Regions from separate parts of the Homo sapiens genome. Here regions 1, 2, 3, 4, 5 and 7 are each linked to region 6. The links are contacts of gene promoters, found by promoter capture Hi-C in blood cells and fetal thymus (Javierre and others, 2016). All regions are on one chromosome and are shown on one strand. The core of a region is centred on a gene start or on the middle of the fragment in contact, and the rest is flanking DNA. Distances in the headings are between cores, read along the strand shown. Region 1 overlaps MITA1 (metabolism induced tumor activator 1). Region 2 overlaps LOC105375911 (a long non-coding RNA gene). Region 3 overlaps MITA1 (metabolism induced tumor activator 1). Region 4 overlaps MITA1 (metabolism induced tumor activator 1). Region 5 overlaps LOC105375911 (a long non-coding RNA gene). Region 6 holds the start of ZC2HC1A (zinc finger C2HC-type containing 1A). Region 7 overlaps LOC105375911 (a long non-coding RNA gene).

Region 1 (2,810 bases), core at 156-2,655, 250 kb after region 6:
TTTAGAATCTATTCCATAGGGTCTTGTGAGAATTAAATGAGATAATTCACATGACAGGCTTACCCTCACTACATGGCATATACTATATGTCATCTATAACAGTAATATTATAATTGTTATTATCAGTTACATGTCCTAACATTCCATGAATCAAACAAATTCTCTTCTCTGTATCCTGAAATCCTAGGTGGTCTCAGCTATTTGGAGAAGTTGGAGGAGTTCTAGTACCCAAAACCTAGAAACATACTTTTCTAGTGAGGATTCATACCCCTAATTATATACACTTTCATTATGTGGTCATTAGAGAGACATTGGCTTGTATCCACGCATTTAAGATCTTATGTTATGGATTGTATCTGTGCAATAATGTGATTAACTGTTTGAACTGCGTTGAACAGAAAGATGTCCCAAATCTGTGGCTTATTTTTTTTTAATTTTTAAATTTTGTAATTTTAAAATGTTTTTTTCTGGGTACATATCAGGTGTATATTTATGGAGTATATGGGATATTTTGATGGAGACATACGATCTTTTAGTTATTTTTAAATGTATAATTAAATTATTATTGACTATAGTTGTGCTACCAATTACTAGATCTTATTTATTCTTTCTATTTTTTGTACCCATTAACCATTCCCACCTCCACCCCGCTATTCTCTTCCAACTACCCCTCCCAGTCTCTGATGACTATCATTCTACTCTCTATCTCTATGAGTTCAATTGTTATAATTTTTAGTTCCTACGAATAAGCGAGAACATGCGATGCTTGGCTTTCTTTGCCTGGATTTTTTCACTTAGCATAATGACCTCCAGTTCCATTCATGTTGTTGCAAATGACAGAATCTCATTATTTTTAATAGCTGAATAGTAGTACTCCATTGTGTATATGTACAACATTGTCTTTAATTTTTTTTTATTTTTCCATAAGTTATTGGGGTACAGGTGGTATTTGGTTACATAAGTTCTTTAGTGGAGATTTGTGAGCTCCTGGTGCCACCCATCACCCGAACAGTATCGCTGCACCATATTTGTTGTCTTTTATCCCTCGCCCCACTCCCACTTGTCACCCCAAGTCCCCAAAGTCTACTGTATCTTTTTTTTTTTTTGAGATTGAGTCTTTCTCTGTTGCCCAAGCTGGAGTGCAGTGGCACGATCTCGGCCCACTGCAACCTCCACCTCCTGGGTTCAAGCAGTTCTCCTGCCTCAGCCTCCCAAGTACTGTATTATTCTTATGCCTTTGCGTCCCCATAGCTTAGCTCCTACACATCAGTGAGAACACAGAAGTAACTCAGGAATGGAAAACCACACTGTCTTTATCTATTCATCTGTTGATGGACACAGGATGTTTCCAAATATTGGCTATTGTTAATAGTGCTGCAATAAACGTGGGAGTGCAAATATCTCATAAATATACTTATTTCTTTCTTTTGAGTGTATCCCTAGCAGTTGGATTACTGGATTATATGGTAGCTCTAGTTTTAGTTTTTGGAGAAATCTCTAAACTGTTCTCCATAGTGATTGTACTAATTTACATTCCCACCAACAGCATATAAGGACTCCCTTTTGTCCACATCCTCGCCAGCATTTGTTATTGCCTGTCTTTTGGCAATAATTAACTGGGGTAGATGATATCTCATTGTAGGTTTGATTTTCATTTTTTTGATGATCAATGATGTGGAACACCTTTTCATATGCCTGTTTGCCATTTGTATGTCTTCTTTTGAGAGATGTCTATTCAGATCTTTTGCCCATTTTAAAATTGGTTTATTAGATTTTTTCCCTATAGAATTGCTTTAGCTCCTTATGTATTCTGGTTATTAATCCCTCGTCAGATGGATTGTTTGCAAATAATTTCTGCCATTCCGCGGGTTGCCTCTTTACTTTGTTGATTGTATCCTTTGCTGTGCATAAGCATTTTAACTTGTCGTGATACTATTTGTCCATTTTTGTTTTGGTTGCCTGAGTTTATGGGGTATTACTCAAGAATTTTTTGCTCAGTTCAATGTCCTGGAGAGTTTCTCCCATGTTTTCTTGTAGTAGTTTCATAGTTTTAGGTCTTAGATTTAAGTCTTCAATCCATTTTCATTTGATTTTTATATATGGTGAGAGATGGCAGTCTAGTTTCATTCTTCTGCATATGGATATCCAGTTTTCCCAGGACCGTTTATTAAAAAGACTGTTCTTTCTGCAATGGATGTTTTTGGCACTGTTGTCAAAGATGAGTTCACTGTACATGTATGGACTTGCTTCTGGGTTCTCTGTTCTGTTCCATTGGTCTATGTGTCTGTTTTTATGCTAGTATCATGCTGTATTGATTACCATAGCTCTGCAGTATAACTTGAAGTCAGATAATCTGGGTCCTCCAATTTTGTCCTTTTTGCTCAGTATAGCTTTGTCTATTTTGTGTGGCTTAATTTCTACCTCATAAATTGTGGTTTCTTCAAGATTTTAATGGGCTTTGAAGCATGATTATTCTCAATCTGTGAAGAATCAGGCATGTTATTGTCATGAGGGCTTTACAGCTCTTGTTTTTAATGATATAATTGTGCACTAAGAACTTTTCTTTCCTAAAAGAGTTACAAGAGAACAGAAAGTGGCATGAATCCATCTCTATATCATCACCTTGTTCTGGCGGCGATCCAGGGGGCACCACATTTATTTTCATTTAGAGATAACCAAACACAATGAGGACATACACACTGTTGTCCTTTTTTGGGGGGGACCTGACTCAGATGCTTCCTTTTTTTCCTGTTTGTAAGCCATGGTGTTCAGGAGAACTTGATACTGACCCAACACTCACAGTTATGGTT
Region 2 (2,873 bases), core at 238-2,737, 240 kb before region 6:
TGTCCTTTCTTCATTATGTGTTTCTAGCATTTTTACTGAATATCAATTGATCATAAATGTGTGAATTTATTTCTGGGCATTCTATTCTGTTCCACTGGTCTATGTGGCTGTTTCTATGCCATTATCAGGCTGTTTTAACTACTATAGGTTTATAGTATCTTTTGATATCAGTTAGTGTACTACAACCAGCTTTGTTCTTTTGCTCAAGACAGCTTTGGCTATTTGGAGTCTTTTATGTTTCCATATGAATTTTAGAGTCTTTATTGTATTTCTATGAAAAATAACATTATAATTTTGATAGGGATTACACTGAATCCATAAATCACTTCAGGTAGTATGGACATGTTAATAACATTATTTCTTCCAATCAATGAACGTGGAATACCTTTATGTTAGTGTTTTTCCAATTCCTTTCATCAATGTTTTATGGTTTTTAGTGTACAGATCTTTCCCCTTCTTCCTTAAATTTATTCCTAAGTATATTATTCCTTCTGATGTTATCGTAAATGGTATTATTTTCTTAACTTCTTCTTTGTATAGTTTGTTGTTAGTGTGTTGAAACTCTACCGATTTTTGAATGCTGCTTTTGTACTCTGGAACTTCACTGCATTGATTAATTAGTTCAAACAGTTTGTTGGTAGGGTTTTAGGCTTTCCTCCTTATGATATCTGCAAACAGAAACAATTTTACCTTTCAGTTTGAATGTATTTTATTTATTTTTCTTGACTAATTTTCTGACTGGAACCTACAATACTATATTGAATAGAAAAGTTAAGAATGAGCACCCTTGTCGTCTTCTCTTCTTCCTGATCTTAGAAAAAAAGTTTCAACTTTTTACCATTGAGTATGATGTGATCTGTGAGCTTGTCATATATGGTCTTTATTATGTTGAGGCATGTGGTTATATTTATGTTCTATACATTATTAAGTATTTTTATAATGAAATCATGTTGAATTTTTCAAATTTTCTTATGCATCTATTGAGATGATCATATAATTTTTATTTTTCTGTTAATGTGGTATATCACATTTATTGACTTGCATATGTTAAACTATCCTTGCATTTCAGGCATCAGTCTCACTTGACCATGATGGCTGATCTTTTAAATCTGCTGTTGAATTTGGTTTCCTGGTATTTTCTTGCAGACTTTTGGATCTATGTTTATCAAAGATATCGGACTGTCAGTTTTGTTTCTCACAGTATTCTTGTCTGGTTTTGGTATTAGGGTAATGGTGGCCTCATAAAATTGAGTTTGAAAGTATTCTCTGCTCTTCAATTTTTTTGAAAAAGTTTGGCAAGCATCAGCATTAATTCTCCTTTAATTGTTTGGAAGAATTCTCCTGTGAATTCTTCAGGTCCTGAGCATTTTTTTGTTGGGTGGTTTTTGACTCCTAATTAAATCTCCTTATTGGTTATTAGTCTGGTCATACTTCTCTTTCTTTATAATTCAGTCTTGTCAACTTTACCTTTTCACAAAGCCAACTCTTAGTATTATTGATCTTTTCTAGTCCTTATTTATTTCTGTTCTAATCTAGTCCTTATTTATTTCTGTTCTAATCTTTATTATTTCCTTTCTTCGTCTATCTTTGTGCTTAGTTTGTTCTGCTTATTTTATTTTTCTGAGGTGTCAAGTTAGCTGTAAAGAAAGATTTGAGGTTGGGCATAGTGGCTCACACCTGTAAATCCAGCACTTTGAGAGGCCAAGACAGAAAGATTCTTTGAGGCCAGGAGTGCGAGACTAGCCTGGGCAACCCAATTTCTACAAAAAATAAAATAAAATAGTAGGTATGGTGTTCCATGCCTGTAGTCCTACCTACTTGGGAGACTAAGCTGGGAAGATCATCTGAGCCCAAGGATTCAAGGTTATAGTTAGCTATCATTGCACCACTGCACTCCAGCCTGGGCAACAAAGTGAGATCCTGTCTCTAAAAACAAAAACAAAAACAAATTAATGTAAACAACTACCACTATAAGTTTTCCTCTTAGAACTACTTTTGCTGCATTTCATAAGTTTTGGCAGTTTGTCTCAATATATGTTTTATTTCCCTTTTGATTTCTTCTCTGACTCATTGGCTGTTTGAGAATGTGTTGTTTAATTTCCACATATTTGTGAATTTTCTAATTTTCCACCTTTATCAATTTCTAGATCCATACCATCATGATCAGAAAAGATACTTGATATGATTTTAATTTTCTTGAATTTATTAAGAGTTTTTTTGTGGCTTAACATATCATGTATTCTAGAGAATGTTCTGTGACAGCTTCAAATATATATATATTCTATATATATGTTCTATATATGTCTATTAGGTCCATTTGGTCTCTACTGTCATTCAAGTCTGATATTTTCTGATTGATTATTTTTCCCTGGATGATCGATATATTGTCGAAAGTGGGGTATTAAAGTTCCCTATGGTTATTGTATTGCTACCTCTTTCAACCTTCAGTTCTGGCAATATTTGCTTTATGCATTTAGGTGCTCTGATATTGGGTACATATATATTTACAACTGTTATAGCCTTTTGATGAATTGATCCCTTTATCATTATTAATGACCTTGTCTCTTGTGATAGTTTTTGACTTAAACTCTATTTCGTATGATATAAATCCAGCCTGCCCATTCTCTTTTGATTACCATTTAATTGAATATCTTTTCTAGTGCCTTCACATTCAACCTATGTGTGCCTTTAAACCTAAAGTGAGTCTCTTGTAGGTGGCATATAGTTGGATCTCATTTTTTTAATCCGTTCAACCACTCTATGTCATTTGAATAATCCATTTACATTTTAAGTAATTATTGATGGATAAGGATGTACTGCCATTTATTCATTATTTTCCAACTATTTTGTAGTTTCTTTTTCTCTTGCTATCT
Region 3 (2,948 bases), core at 411-2,910, 230 kb after region 6:
GAAAACAGTTCTGTCTCACTCTCTGGCTTATACCCTTCCATCCACACAATGCTACACCATTTTTCAAAGACATGAGGTTTAATGAGACAATAATGTTGGTAAAGTGTTCTAATTTCCTCTGAGAAAAGGAGCCATAAAATTTTATTGTTATTGTTACACTTATTATTGAAGCTCAATGAATGCTTTAGTGGTGTCATTGATGTAACTAATATTACTCTCATTTATTTCATTTAGGGAACTAATGTCTAAAAATAAGAACAAGCAAATTTAGTGGGCTATAGATTCAGCTGGTTATCAAGTGCTACTTTGCAGATAGAGACCTTGAGGACTAACTCAACAACCCAACAATCAAGGTCGAAGATGGTCTTGGGGGCAAAAGTGAAAAGTGTAACCACTAGGGACTCTTTCTAATGCTGGGCTTTCCCAAGGGGTGAGAAAGGGATGGATTAAAGGTGAAATGCTTGAAACATTGTATTCTCGGTCTGTAATTGCTGAGAAAGGGATGGAATAAAGGTGAAGGGCCTGAAACATTGTATTCTCTGTCTGTAATCGTTAAGGAATATAGCAATAATTCCTCCACTTGTTTGTGGAAATAACAATGGACCCAGTTTAGATAATTTGATTCTCCAGAAGGGCAGGCATTTTCTCCTTTCTATGAAAGAGTTTATTGTGTTAAGTATATAAAACAAAATTATGTCAAGGACAGGAAGGCACTACAAAATGACATGGAGTCATGCATATATTTAAGCACGAGCAGGAACCTTGGCATGATTAATTTTAGGTTTGCCATCTTAAAAATTCTTTACAGTGGGAAATAATTCAATTTCCTCCTAAAAGTTACATTTTTGCTTAAATAATCACCAGCTTGAACTGTAATTTAGAATGGAAGAATGAGAATTCTACCTGCCTTTTTATTTGTCAATTATGTGTTTAATTATCATTTGTCTAAGCTTGGACTTCATTGTGTTCACATTTTTTCCTGACGTGCTATGTTTGAAGAAATGTAGAATTCTGCACTTTATTCAGACCTTACCTCTGATTAAAGCAGAAAGGGATGTCCATGTGATCCACTTTCCTTGTTTTCAGAGAAGAAAACTGAGACCTAGCGAAAACAAGTGCCTCAGCTGAGATCTCACAGTTGGTTAGCAGTGCTTGGCATTTAATCCAGGCCCCATTCCACGACTACATTTGTCCATTTCATTTATTAGGAATTTGTGTAGACAAGTCTTTCTGTTAAATTACTTTACCTTGAATTTGTCTCATCTTTTTCCTAAAAGGGCAATGCAGAATGAACACAAGGACTCCTTTGCTATCTATTGCTAAGTATAGGGAAGGTGGAAAGTACCTGGTTGCCTCTACAGCTCTTCTCTGTGTCCTTGTGTGTGGCACCACTGTTTGACAGCAAAACTAAGCCAATGCCTTGCATTGAGGCACACTGGGGATAAAAATCTCATTCATTGATTGATGAAAAACATGCAAGAACAAATTATTCCTTCATTGTCATTCATAAAGCATTTCCCTACCACCAAACTTCACATCTCCTCTTTTCCTTGCCTAATCTTGCTTTCCTACAGAAAATGTTCAGCATGGATAGTTGGGGGAAACAGGAGGGAAAATATAGGAAGTGGTTAGGAGAAAGGCAAGATTGACCCCAGCAAATGATTTTGAAGCATGCCTGGAAATAGTTGGCATCTCAGGCTAGACATAAATTCATTGTCTTGAGTTCACAGCACTTGCCTTTTATTTTCTGGAAGTCACACTTCTTCAGTGAAATAAAAAATGTCCCTAATGGTGGTAATCTCACTTCTTCCATGGAAAAAAAAATTCTCATTATCACCTCCTCTGCACACTCCTAACCAACCTCCCAGTAATCTTGTTCTCTTTAATTAACCTACTTCCTGTAATTGAAAAAAAATGAAGGAAATCTTTTTATTTGGCCAGCTTATAATTTAGTTTATATAGAGGAACATTTTATTTTTTAAGCTAAAACTATAATACAATATCAAATAGAGAGTAGGTGCTAAAATATCTGATGAGCGAGTGGATTGATTGGATGATGAGTTTAGTAATCATTTTTTTGGTACTTAGACTGGTCAGCCTTTTTAGGAGGGGGAGACAGATAGATAGTTACTGTGATAAGAGTTTGTTGTAGTTTAATGGAGGAGACATACAGGTAAACGATAAAAACAGTGTAACATGATAAATGTCGTTAAGAGATAGAAACAAAGCACTGTGGAATCTTTGAGAAGAGAATGAGAAATTCTCTTGGGGTGTCAGGAAAGGCTTGTAGCAATGTTAGCATTTGAGTTGGATCTTAAAGGATGACTAAGACTGTCCTAGGATTATGAAAATGGACAAAAGTGGAAAAAGAAAGCTTTCAAGCTTATGCAAAGACTTGGAGGTTATAGAAACCTGGCATGTTTGATGAACACTTAGAAATTTTAGAAATTTGGTGTGGCAGAAGCCTTGAGGGAAGTGGCAGGAGATGGTGTACGCTGGAACCAGAGTCTGAAAAGTCTTGAATGTCAACTGGGGAGGTTGGATTTTATTTTCTGGGCAGTAGGCAACCAAGAGAGGCTTTAAACCTGGGAATTTACATGCTTGATTTTTTTCTGTTTAAAAAAGAAATCTAGGGATGATATCTATAAGGGTCTTGTTACAGAAACCAGTTAGGGAGTAATTTTAACAGTTCAAGTGAGATGTCTTATTCGGTTTAGCCTACTCTCACAATGTACCATAAACTGGGTCATTTATAAATAACAGAGATTTATTTTTCATAGTTCTTGAGGCTGGAAGTGTGTCATCAGGGCATCAGCATGGACATATTCTGTTGAGGGCTGTCATCCATGTTACAGACTGCTGACTTTTGTTGTGTCCTCACATGGCAGAAAGAGGACAAGAGAGCTCTCTGGCCTCTTCCTGTAAGGGCACTAATAATCTCATTTGTG
Region 4 (2,700 bases), core at 134-2,633, 200 kb after region 6:
TACATGTCTGGAAAAGCCTCACTACAATGCAGATTTGTATGTGGGTAAAGTAAAACCATTTTTTTTTTAATGTGTTGACTATAACGTAAGGGGATCCTTGTGAGTTAAAAAAAAGAGAGTTAGCAAACTGATTGGGAAATAGAACTGAAATCTATAACTACCCAGCAGAATAGTTTCAGAAAAACAGGAAGCTTTCCCAGAAGACCAGGCCTTGGACCTAGGCAAAGAGAGAGAGGTTGAAAATAAAGCTCTTGAAGAAAGTTGAAAATTAAAAGGGCTAAAATATTAATAAAAGAGTAGATGGAAAAAAGCCAAGCAAAACAAAAACAACCAAAGAAAAACTTCTTAGGAAGAAAGGTAGAATACAAAAATACTTATTTGTTTTGGTTACTACTTTCAGTGGGCAAACAATAAAAAGGTTCTGGGAGTGTGTAACCACATTGGTTTGGTGTTCAAATTTACACTATTTCTGTGGATTAGGGAAACACAAGCTGAGAAATGAACTTAAGTTCCTTCAAAAGCAAACAAAATTATAGCATGCATAGCAAAAGACAAGTAAACAAACAGAAAGAAAGAACAAAATAAACATCATGAAATAAGATGCTGAGTTATGTTAGAAGGAAAGTGTAAATCTTCTGGAAAGGGATGTAACCTTATCCAGGCCTGGTGGACATTCCACCAAAAGGTTATACTGGATATAAATTCACAATCAAAATTAAAACACATACACAAAATTAGCCACACTGAATGAGAACAACTGCAACAGAAAATATGAAAAATAAGGATATGCAATAAAAATATTTTATAAAGAAACCAAAAAGAACTTGTAATGAAAAATATAATTGAACATATATCTAATAGGACTTTTAGAAAAAAATAATTGAGACAAGGAAAGAGAGGATCTATTTAAACAGATAAAGACTAAGATTTTTCCTAATCAATCAAAGGCATGAATCTCTGTATTAAAGAAGCATAAATGACTCTTTTTTAACTCTTAAGTTCAGAGGTACAACTACAAGTTTGTTACATAGGTAAACTTGTGTTATGGGGATTTGTTGTACAGGTTATTTCATGACTCAGATGTTAAGCCTAGTACCCATTAGTTATTTTTCCTGATACTCTCCCTTCTCCTACCCTCATTTCTCTGAAAAGCCCCAGTGTGTGTTGCTGTCTGCTATGTGTACATGTGTTCTCATCATTTAGTTCCCACTTATAAGTGAGAACATGCAGTATTTGATTTTCTGTTCCTGTGTTAGTTTGCTAAGGATAATGGCCCCTAGTTCCATCCATAGACAAAACCTAAATAAGTCTTAAGTAGATATAACAAAGATGAAATCCATACCGAAATTCATCCTTGTTTTCTAACAGATCACCAAAGGTAGAGAGATCTCTAAAAAGCCACAGAAAAATGATCCTACACATGTATAAAATTGACAGCAAATTTCTTAACAATAGAAGCCAGAAGACAGTAGAGGAATCTTTCCAAGTGTTGAGAGAAATAATCTGGCATTTTTGTATTTTTTCAAGAATGATGGTGAAAAACATTAGAGCAAGTAAAAACTGAATTTATCTCTAATAGACACTCACTAAAGCATCTTGAAAAGGATGTACTTCAAAAGGAAAGAATATTATCCTAGGAAGACTATGAATGCAATATCAAATGGAGAAAAAAAACCTCACATGCTAAAGAATATAAAATATAACCAGTATAAATAAACATATAGAACATATATTGAACATATAAAACAATAATGTCTAATTTTGTGTTAAATAAGTCAGATATAAAATGCTGCACAACAGTATCATGAAAGATGAGTTGGAGTTGATCAGAGTTAAAGTGTTGTAAGGTCTCTTTTGTTGTTTGAAAGAGTAGGAAAAGAAAATACTAACTTCATTTTCATATTAAAATTTTCAGGAAAACCATTAGAAAAATAGAAATAGGGTGCATAAATTATGAAAGAAGAGAGAAAAGAAATAAAAGAAGAGAAATTAACCTTAGACAAAGGTATAAAAGGAAATAAAATATGCTATAAAAGCAGGACAAACAGCAAACACAAAATAAAATGGTAGAAAGATTCCAAATATATCAGTAATCACAATAAATATAAATGGATGATTCTCACCACTGAAAAAAGATTTACAGATTATGTTAAAAATTATCAACTATATGCAAGTTAAACCCAATAACTTAAGGTTCCAAAAAAGATGACAAAAGGAAAAAGTACCCAGAAGAGATTAACCAAAAGATATTAATATTGACATATTAATATCAATAAATTACATTTAAGTCAAAAAATAGAAATAAAGAGAACTACTACTTAAATATTAAATGCTGAATAAATCAAGTTACCCTATATTTTTGGCCAGTTCCCTGTATACAACTGGCAGTTAATATGCTTTGCTTATTTTCTCTTGTGTTGTTTGTCCTTCTTTTATAAATTGTTGAAATTCATTTTTCTATTCTAGATATTAACCATTTATAGTTAAATGCATTGCAAATGTTTTCTCCCAGTATGTGTTTGTCTTTTCAAACATTTGTATTGTGTTTGGGGATTGGTTCAGTTTTCTTTTCAACTAAGCTTGACTGCAGTGCTCAGATCCTTACTGAAAGGAAATGGTATCCAAATAAGTCATGAAATGCAGGACATATTATTGGCAAACTTATCATATACAGTTGATGGTGGTGAAGTGTTCAGTGAA
Region 5 (2,848 bases), core at 151-2,650, 220 kb before region 6:
AAACTCATTTCTAGTGTACTATTTCTGTAATATATTAATTTTTATAAAATATTCTGTTTTATTTATACTATCATAATTATCATTAATTTCAAATCTTGTTTTTTGTTGGAGTAACAGTTCATGTGATGCATAGTAAAACACATAAAAAGACATATAAAATACCCCCAGAATATAGCCCATTCTAATTGCCTATTGCCTGTCTTTTCCAGATTTTTGTATAATATCCATGAAGTTTAAACTGATTTTAAAATTCTATGATTTTGGTGGTAATCTATCAGAAAATATAAATTGAAAAAAATAGTAAGCTGACCCTCTAGACTATAAATTCCTAAAATCAAAAGCATGCCATATTCCCCCTTTCCTTAACTAAATTGTCTGTAGTTCAACCTGAGGGTAATTAAGGCAATGCTTTATGTGCTATTTTGATGCTAGCCAGGGTAGTCAAAATTTTAGTCATAATAGGCAAATTATATTCTCTGACCTCAAAACATGGAACCCACCTTCCTCCTTTTATTAAGTTACTGTTCTTTCCTTGTTCTGAGCAGTATCTGTGCTTTTTCTCAGAACTACTTTATTGTTACCTGACTTCCCAACCTTCTTGTGTTTTGATTGTTACAACCTTGGTAATAAAGTAAGATTAAATAATTCATTGGCTTACCATTGTGTTAGAAAATAAAGTTTAATTTTACTAAAATGGCACAGAAAACTCTTTATAATCTAGCCCTATCAGCCTCATCTCCACTGTTTCCCTTTCTCATTTTTACTGCAACATTATCATATTGCATACAGTTCTCAAAACATGCAAATTAGTTATTTTGAACATGTTGTTCTTCCCAGCTGAAATGGTCTTATCCATATTAGTTCTTCAGGGTGATTTCTCATTCTTCAACGACCATGTAAATTACCATATCCTCTGGGAGGTCCTTCGTAGACAGTAACTCCTCTCTTCTTAAATCACCAAACAGCATGATGATTACTCATTTAGATGTAAAACTTCCCAGTGAGCATCTTGAAGACACAGTCCATGTGCTTATCATTGTACTTGCAAATGATAAGGTGCTCAACAAGTATTCTGATGAATTAACTAAGAAATTTGTATTGTAAGCTCCTAAAACACAGTGCATTTGAATTGAAAAAGATTTCATACGTATTAAAAGAATTTTGTGATGGTTTTTGATAAATCTATTTTTGAACATTTGTAAAAATAGGAAAATCATTTTATCAATGGTCTATAAAGGAAATAGAATTGCAAATCTTCAGCATTTTAACTTTAAATACTTAAGCCAGACATACGCTGCCACCTTTGAGCCTATGGATTTTTGTGCTACTTTTCTAGATGAAATTTGAAGCATGTGGCACTTTAAAATGATCAGTAAATCTTTAGTTAGGGTTAAGGAAACTCTAACCTTCCTTTGACATCTAGGAGTAATTGAGCTGGTAAGAATCTGTGGGACACACGATTTCCTCAAAATCAAGGAATCTTTATTAGTATGATCGATCTTCATATGCTTTCATCGAACATTTTCTATAGTGAGTAACTCATCCCGTTTTTGGTCAGTTCCAACTATTAAAACATTTCTTCCTTTACACAGCAAAATTCTACTCTCATGATGTCCCACAGCTGTTTTGTCCCACACAGAGGTCAATGATTTTCATCTGACTCTTCACATGTTTGAGGTTTAGTTGCATTAATTCTTGAAGTTAAAATGAAAAAAAATAAGACTATATATATCACTCTGGATCAATTTTGGCATCAACATAAAGAAAAAAAAGATATCTTTCTATATATAAAAATAATAATTTGTATAAAGTTTTTAACACATAAAACCCATTATATTTTATTGGTATATAATATTTGTACATATTTATTGGGTACATGGGATATTTTGTTACATGCATAGAATGAATAATGATCAAGTCAAGGTATTTAGTGTATTAATCACCTGAAGTATTAATTATTTCTATGTGTTGGGAACATTTCAAACCTCAGTTTCCTCAGTGATCATATAAAATTAGCCCTTGACTACTCTTCTTCCAAAAACAAAGCAATATCCAAAAGACCCAACTGTTTCAAAGTGACTTACCTATGTCACTGAACAAATCCCAAGAATACTTTCAGAAATAAAAAATATGCAGCACAGAAAAGGTAAATTCATAATATCTAATAACCCATCAAAATGTACCAGGCAAACAATCAAGCTGAAAAATACAACCCATAATGAGAGGTAAAATCAATTAATCAATTGAGACTATATATTTTACAGATAAAACACTGTAGACAAGATCATTAAAGTAATCACTGTAACTATAAACCATATGTACAATAAAACAGAGTGGAAATGAGCATATTAAGTAGAGAGATGGAAGATAAATATCAAAATTACCCTTCAAAAGTTTCAAACACAATGTTTGAGATAAAAACTACACTAGGTGAGATTAAGTACATAAGATTTTTGATAGAGTTGGTTAAATTCTCTATGATCTGAATGATTTTCTGTCTATCTGTTTCACTAATAATAAAACAGGGAAGCTGAATTCTTCTGTAATTGTAGGTGGTCTCATTTCTCATTTTTCCTCAGGTATCTTAAATTTCTCTTTTCAGGAGCATAAATATTTGGAAGTATTATTTCTTTTTGATTAATTGACCTATTTGCCATGTTGAAATAATACTCTTTATTCCTGCTCTATTCTTTGTGCTGTGGTATCTATTATACTTTGCCTGATGTTATTACAGGCACTCCAGCTTGGTACATATGTCTTCCAATCCTTTGCTTTTAACTTAAATGTTTCATTATATAACTGGTTACTTTTGTTATATAACTGGTTATTTAACTGGTTAAAGTGTGTT
Region 6 (2,751 bases), core at 97-2,596:
AGAAAAAGGACCTTTCCGCAGCACCCAGTCTAGAGTAGCTTATTGCCTGCAAGGCTATGGGTTGGCCAAGGAGGCCCAGGATCTCAGAGAAGCAGAAGAGCCAGGGGAACCAGGGAAGGGCGGAGGGAGTCATTGAGGCATGGTTGAAGTGGTCTTTACATGGCTCCACACAACAGATGGACTCTACCACATTCAAATGCACTTGGAGCACCTTCTCAGTAAGAGATGATGCCCCCTCAAGTGTTTGCTTGTTTAAACATACCTTCATGTGAGTGGAGAGTAGGAGGAATCCTGCTTCCTGAAGGTAACTGATTTCATAGTAGATGAAGTTAGATATGAAGTTAAACTCTTCAATTAAACAGATTAACAATAACATTAATCCGAGGTTTGTTATGGACAACACATTAATACTGGTAACTTGCCAGTAGATACGCTATAGTCAGCAAACAGTACAGCTTGTTTACGATTGCTAAATCAAATTTTCAAAGAAATGTAGTTCTGGTAATTGTAAGCAAAACCGTTAAAATGGTCTGAGTTAGTTTTGAAGTTACTTTCATCTTCAGGAGGTTTTGAACTCTGTTAGAGACGGGCGGGCCTCATTCTGTCAGGTTGTAGGTTAATTCCCCAACTCAAACTTCCCCGATCAAACATTGTCAGGCCAGGCGACTGTTTTGGTTTATGGATGATAAAGTATAGGGCCAAGGTAGGCCAAGAGTAGAAGACAGAGGGAGGGCTGGGTTTCACTTCTAATTTTTGGCCCAAGCTTTCATGGTGAGGAAACTGTTTTCAAGGGCTTAGAGCAATCGCAGTTCCACAATCGCAGATAGAAAGTATGATTTCTCTGGAAAAAAAGTGTCTTAACCTATGAAGCTGTGTGTGAAGATCAAGTGTAGGGGATACGCTGAGGTCAAGTCATGCGACCAAAGACCGGAAAACGGAGATTGCTGCATGCAAGCGTGCTGGGCGTTTGTTTGGTTTGCTTGCCTGCTTAAAGTATCCACTGGGAGGGATGGCGGCTAGAAGTCAGAGGCATTGACTGATTGAGGAACTGGTGAAGCGGAGCCCATGAGGTGCTGAGGTACTCTAAATAGGAGGATAAGGTATGAGGCAAAACAAGGCTGGAGTCAAACAAAGGCGCCGTTGCATCGCAGATTGCAACCTGAAGCGGCTCCCGGCTCCCTGGAGAGTAACCCGGAGAGACGGACAGGGGTGGCAGCCAGGAGGAGACCGCAGGAACCTCGCCTCCGCCGCGGCCCCGCCCCCACGGATCCCCGCCCCCGCAGTTGCGGAACCAATGGGAGCTCGGAATGTTAGCGGGTGGGAGGTGCGGCTGGGTTGCTACAGCCAGAGCTGGGCGGTGGCGGGCGCTGCTGAAGGAGTCTCGCTGAGCTCGAGGAGGTGGCGCGATGGAGGGACTGGAAGGTGAGGCGATGAAGGGATGAGGGCAGGACGGCTAGAGCGGGCCCGAAACAGCTGGGGACCCTGGACACCAGTAGCAGGAAGGCGAGGGCTGGTTCGGTGCGGCGGACCTCGCCGCGTCCCGCCGCGCCTCCGGAGGCTGGGGCCGAAGGGAACCGGACAGTCCCCGATGCGGTGGAGCTAACGCTACCAGGCTGCCCCGCCTCAGACGGTCTTCAACTGGGCTTTCCCGCCCGGAGCCAGATCCTGCCCCTGGCAAGACGCCTGCACGTCTCTTCCTACCATTTTCTGATCTTGCTTGACTCCTGAGTGCCCTTTTAGTGATCCCAGTCTCTGGCCAGATTTTGTTTTCCTTGTACTGGACTCTCTCCATTATTGTCCACGGCCTTAACACCAACAGGCCACTTTGTGCTGCAGCCCCGGGGTGTGTCTCCAGCCTCGAGCTCCTGACATTCCTTGGCCGATTTCCCTAGGTAACCGGCTTTTTACATTTCGACAGCATCTTCTGTCGGAGGGATGTCAGAGCATCTCCTAAGGAAGTGTCACTGGCCAGCTTTAGAGCCGGTACAATAGATTACCCGGAGGATTTGATGACTTATTCACGGCCGCTGTGTGAGGAAGAGCCTGTATTGGTTCCTTATCTTTGGGTTTATCTTTGTACTGTAACCATGACTCCAGATTTTGCTTTGTTCCCAGTTCTTTCACTTTTTCTCTATTCTGTTTACCCATTTTATCCTGTGTAATGAAAGCATTCACCTAAAAACAAAGGAAGGACAAAAACCACAATAACTAGCATTGGCAACAACAGTTTCAAGATTTTTTAATTTGTTATGATGAAGAACAAACCTTCAGAATTGAAAGATCCTATTGTCTTGATTTAGCTCCTTTCCCCCGTCTCCTAGTTTACACGGATTCAGTTGGAATTAAGAATGAGCAGAAGCTTTTGAGTCTTGTGTATTGTTGCATGCCAGGGAGTAAAATATTCTACATTGTGTGATGAAGTGCAAAGTGGTAGCCGGTAACTTTTTCAGTCACCTATTCACCAAAAAGCAGATGTAATAACATGAGTAGAAGTTTATTTCGTGCTTTTGCTCTGATAAATGATTCTGATAATTTTCCGTTTGTGGACAGCTGCAGTATGCTATGGCCTAATGAAGGTCTTGTTTTTTGCTTATGTGTTTTTGGAAGATAATTCAAGTTTCCATGAAATAAGGAATTGTAATGATAGTACAGTATATTTTACTTTCAAGATACTTTTGTATCTTGGTGGGATTAAAGCATGGGTTATGGAATTCTCATGAGATTATCATATATAATATGATAAGGTTTTAT
Region 7 (2,830 bases), core at 156-2,655, 210 kb before region 6:
TCTCCACCATGAAAACTATAAAGGATTAATGAAAGAAATTGAAGAAGATGCAAATAAATAGAAAGACATCTTGTGTTCATGGACTGGTAGAATTATTATTGTTAAAACATCTATAACTACCCAAATATATCTGCAGATTCAATGAAATTTCTATTAGAGTTCTATTGTCATTTTTTACAGAAATAGAAAAAAAGAAAATTCTAAAATTTATATGGAACCACAAAATACCCTAAATAGCCAAAGCAATCTTTAACAGAATAAACAAAGCTGGAGGCATCGCACTGATTTCAAAATATACTACAAAGGTATAGTAACTAACACAACATCATACAGGCATAAAAACAGACACATAAGCCAGCGAAAGAAAGGAGAGAACCCTAAAATAAATCCATGCATTTATACAGCCAAATGACTTACAACAATGGTGCCAAGAATATACAATGGAGAAAGGACAGTTTCTTTGCTGGATGATGCTTGGAAACTGGATATGCATATACAAAGAATGAAACTACACTCCCATTTCTCATCATGTACAAAAACCAGTGCAAAATGAATTAAAGACTTAATTGTAAGACCAATAACTATAAAACTATTAGAATAAAACATAGTGAAAATATTACATGACGTCAGTCTGGCAAGGATTATTTTAGACAAGATGTCAAAAGGACAAACAACAAAAGCAAAAATAAACAAAAAGTTTGCGCCAAACTAAAAGCTTCTGCACAGCAAAGAAAACAATAAACAGAATGAAGAGACTAGCTAGATATGTGGGAAAATAATTGCAAATTATACATCTAAAAATGAGTTAATATCCAGAATTTCTTAGGAACCCAAACAACTCAAAGCAGTAATAATCATCATCATCATTATCTGTATACGAAATGGACAAAAGACCTGAACATATTTTCTCCAAAGAAGACATACAAATAGCTCACAGGTATATGAAGAAATACTCAACATCACTAACCATCAGGGAAATGCATATCAAAACCACAGTGGGATATCACCTCACCCCAGTTAGAATGACTACTATTGAAAAATTTAAAAATAGCAAATGCTGAAGAGGATGTATGAAAAAAAGAACTCTTGTGTACTTTGGGGAATGTAAATTAGTATGAACATTATAGAAAATAGTATGGAGCACCCTCAAAAAATTTAAAATAGACCTAGATATAAAACAGCAACCCATCTTATGGGTATATACCCAAAGGAAATAAAATCAGTATGTTGAAGAGAGATCTGTACTTTCATGCTTAGTGCAGCACTATTCACAATAGTAAATACATGAAATCAATGTAAATGCCCATCAATGGATGAGTGGGTAGAGGAAATGTCATATATATATATATATATATATATATATATATATATATATATATACACACACACACATATATATACACACATATGCAACAGAATATATTTAGCCATAAAAAGATGAATTCCTGTAATTTTGCAATAGCATGGATGAGCCTGGAGGACATGTTAAGTAAAATAAGCCAGACACAGAAAGACAAATACTCCATGTTCTCATTCATGTATGCAATCTAAAAATTTGATCCCATAGAAGTTGAGAACAGAATAATGATTACCAAAGACTGGGGAGAACAGAAGGAGAAGGATATGGGGAGAGGCTAGTCAACAGATACAGTATTACAGTTATGAGGAATATGTTCTCATACCTTACTGCACAGTAGGGTGACTATAGTTAACAATAATGCATTGTATTTTCCCCATAGCTAGAAGACTTTGAATGTTCTCACAAAAAAGAAATAATAAATGTTTAAGGTGATAGATATAAGTACCATGACTTGATTATATTATACGTACATTTATCAAAACATCACATTGTACCTCATAAATAGGCATAATTATTCCTCAATAAAAAAATAAAGAACCAACCTACTTCACAATCATAATTATCATCTTTCTTACATCTGTTGCATGCAATAGATACCATGCTCCAAATAAATTAACTCCCTCATCTACCTCATCACAGATAGTCATAGGTAAAATGTTTAGTAATTGCCATGCCAATTTACCTTTTTGCTCATAATATTGTCTTAGCCAGACAACATGGAAGCTGAGCCTAAAGATAAGCTTACATGCTAATGCTCTAGTCTGTAGTATCTCAAGTCTGGTCTGCCCAACAGGTCCATCTGCATTGCCTTGGAACTTGTAAAAATGGCAAGGTCTTGGGCCCCACTGCAGATATATTGAATCAGAATGTCTAAGGACAAGCCTTGACATGGGTACTTTAAAAGTTCTTCAGGTGATTCTTTCATTTACTAAAGCATGAAGGATAGTGCTTTATAGGATGATACAGTTAAAGTAATGGAGAACTGAGGCAGGGAGGGAAAGGAAGCAATATAAAGCTGCACAATAAGATCAGCCAGTTGTTTTGTCTGCAAAATACAGCTCCAAACAAGGTTTACAGAAACCCTAATCCATTGAAAGCATAAAAACTTCTCTCTTACCTTTTTCTCTCATTGCTCAAACTTGACCCCATGGTTTATTGCTTCTGCGGCACACCAGGTCCCTTCATGTGGCTACTGTGAAAAGTATACCCCATTCCATAAGTGTGAAAGTAGTAGGAGGGGCAAAATGTATGCTCTGCAATTTTTCAGATTACATCCAAGCATGTTTCCTTATTTGTACATTTTATTTTTTCGTTTTATCTTATTTCTGAAAAAAGATGAGAATTTTGTAAAATGAAATAAAAAGGCATTCTTTTGTTTTTCTGGAGACAGAGTCTCATTCTATCCCCCAGGCTGGAATGGAGTGGCATGATCTCGGCTCACTGCAACCTCTGCCTCCCAGGTTCAAGCGA

What was found. The method cuts DNA at HindIII sites, captures the fragments that hold promoters and counts their contacts. A CHiCAGO score of 5 or more calls a contact.
Region 1: a contact is called between a fragment that was not itself captured here and the fragment with the promoter of ZC2HC1A in region 6, in 1 of 17 cell types (total B cells). The highest score is 6.6, in total B cells.
Region 2: a contact is called between a fragment that was not itself captured here and the fragment with the promoter of ZC2HC1A in region 6, in 1 of 17 cell types (non-activated CD4 T cells). The highest score is 6.0, in non-activated CD4 T cells.
Region 3: a contact is called between a fragment that was not itself captured here and the fragment with the promoter of ZC2HC1A in region 6, in 1 of 17 cell types (total B cells). The highest score is 5.5, in total B cells.
Region 4: a contact is called between a fragment that was not itself captured here and the fragment with the promoter of ZC2HC1A in region 6, in 2 of 17 cell types (total B cells and naive B cells). The highest score is 6.6, in total B cells.
Region 5: a fragment that was not itself captured here is called in contact with the fragment with the promoter of ZC2HC1A in region 6 in 1 of 17 cell types (non-activated CD4 T cells); the score reaches 6.7 in non-activated CD4 T cells.
Region 7: a contact is called between a fragment that was not itself captured here and the fragment with the promoter of ZC2HC1A in region 6, in 2 of 17 cell types (activated CD4 T cells and non-activated CD4 T cells). The highest score is 7.1, in activated CD4 T cells.

The regions. Positions count from the first base shown.
Region 1 is chr8:78,916,690-78,919,499 of GRCh38, forward strand. The region is part of intron 1 of MITA1 (metabolism induced tumor activator 1); the gene reads left to right. The region is part of intron 2 of LOC105375912 (a long non-coding RNA gene); the gene reads right to left. Among named protein-coding and RNA genes, the nearest start is that of LINC02605, 81 kb to the left of the region's middle. The HindIII fragment of the contact is 3,702 bases long and covers 1-2,810 here.
Region 2 is chr8:78,422,697-78,425,569 of GRCh38, forward strand. The region is part of intron 3 of LOC105375911 (a long non-coding RNA gene); the gene reads right to left. Among named protein-coding and RNA genes, the nearest start is that of PKIA, 92 kb to the right of the region's middle. The HindIII fragment of the contact is 4,374 bases long and covers 1-2,873 here.
Region 3 is chr8:78,895,883-78,898,830 of GRCh38, forward strand. The region is part of intron 1 of MITA1 (metabolism induced tumor activator 1); the gene reads left to right. Among named protein-coding and RNA genes, the nearest start is that of LINC02605, 60 kb to the left of the region's middle. The HindIII fragment of the contact is 1,424 bases long and covers 949-2,372 here.
Region 4 is chr8:78,859,963-78,862,662 of GRCh38, forward strand. The region is part of intron 1 of MITA1 (metabolism induced tumor activator 1); the gene reads left to right. Among named protein-coding and RNA genes, the nearest start is that of LINC02605, 24 kb to the left of the region's middle. The HindIII fragment of the contact is 2,388 bases long and covers 190-2,577 here.
Region 5 is chr8:78,440,760-78,443,607 of GRCh38, forward strand. All of the region lies in intron 2 of LOC105375911 (a long non-coding RNA gene), which reads right to left. Among named protein-coding and RNA genes, the nearest start is that of PKIA, 74 kb to the right of the region's middle. The HindIII fragment of the contact is 6,955 bases long and covers 1-2,848 here.
Region 6 is chr8:78,664,743-78,667,493 of GRCh38, forward strand. ZC2HC1A (zinc finger C2HC-type containing 1A) reads left to right here and starts at 1,347. Exons shown (of 9, transcript NM_016010.3): 1 at 1,347-1,422. The coding sequence starts at 1,407. It overlaps LOC105375911 (a long non-coding RNA gene), which reads right to left and starts at 1,237. Exons shown (of 4, transcript XR_007060972.1): 1 at 263-1,237. RefSeq lists enhancers at 470-978, 979-1,486, 1,451-1,500 and a silencer at 1,161-1,380. The HindIII fragment of the contact is 1,596 bases long and covers 762-2,357 here.
Region 7 is chr8:78,458,059-78,460,888 of GRCh38, forward strand. All of the region lies in intron 2 of LOC105375911 (a long non-coding RNA gene), which reads right to left. Among named protein-coding and RNA genes, the nearest start is that of PKIA, 57 kb to the right of the region's middle. The HindIII fragment of the contact is 1,385 bases long and covers 714-2,098 here.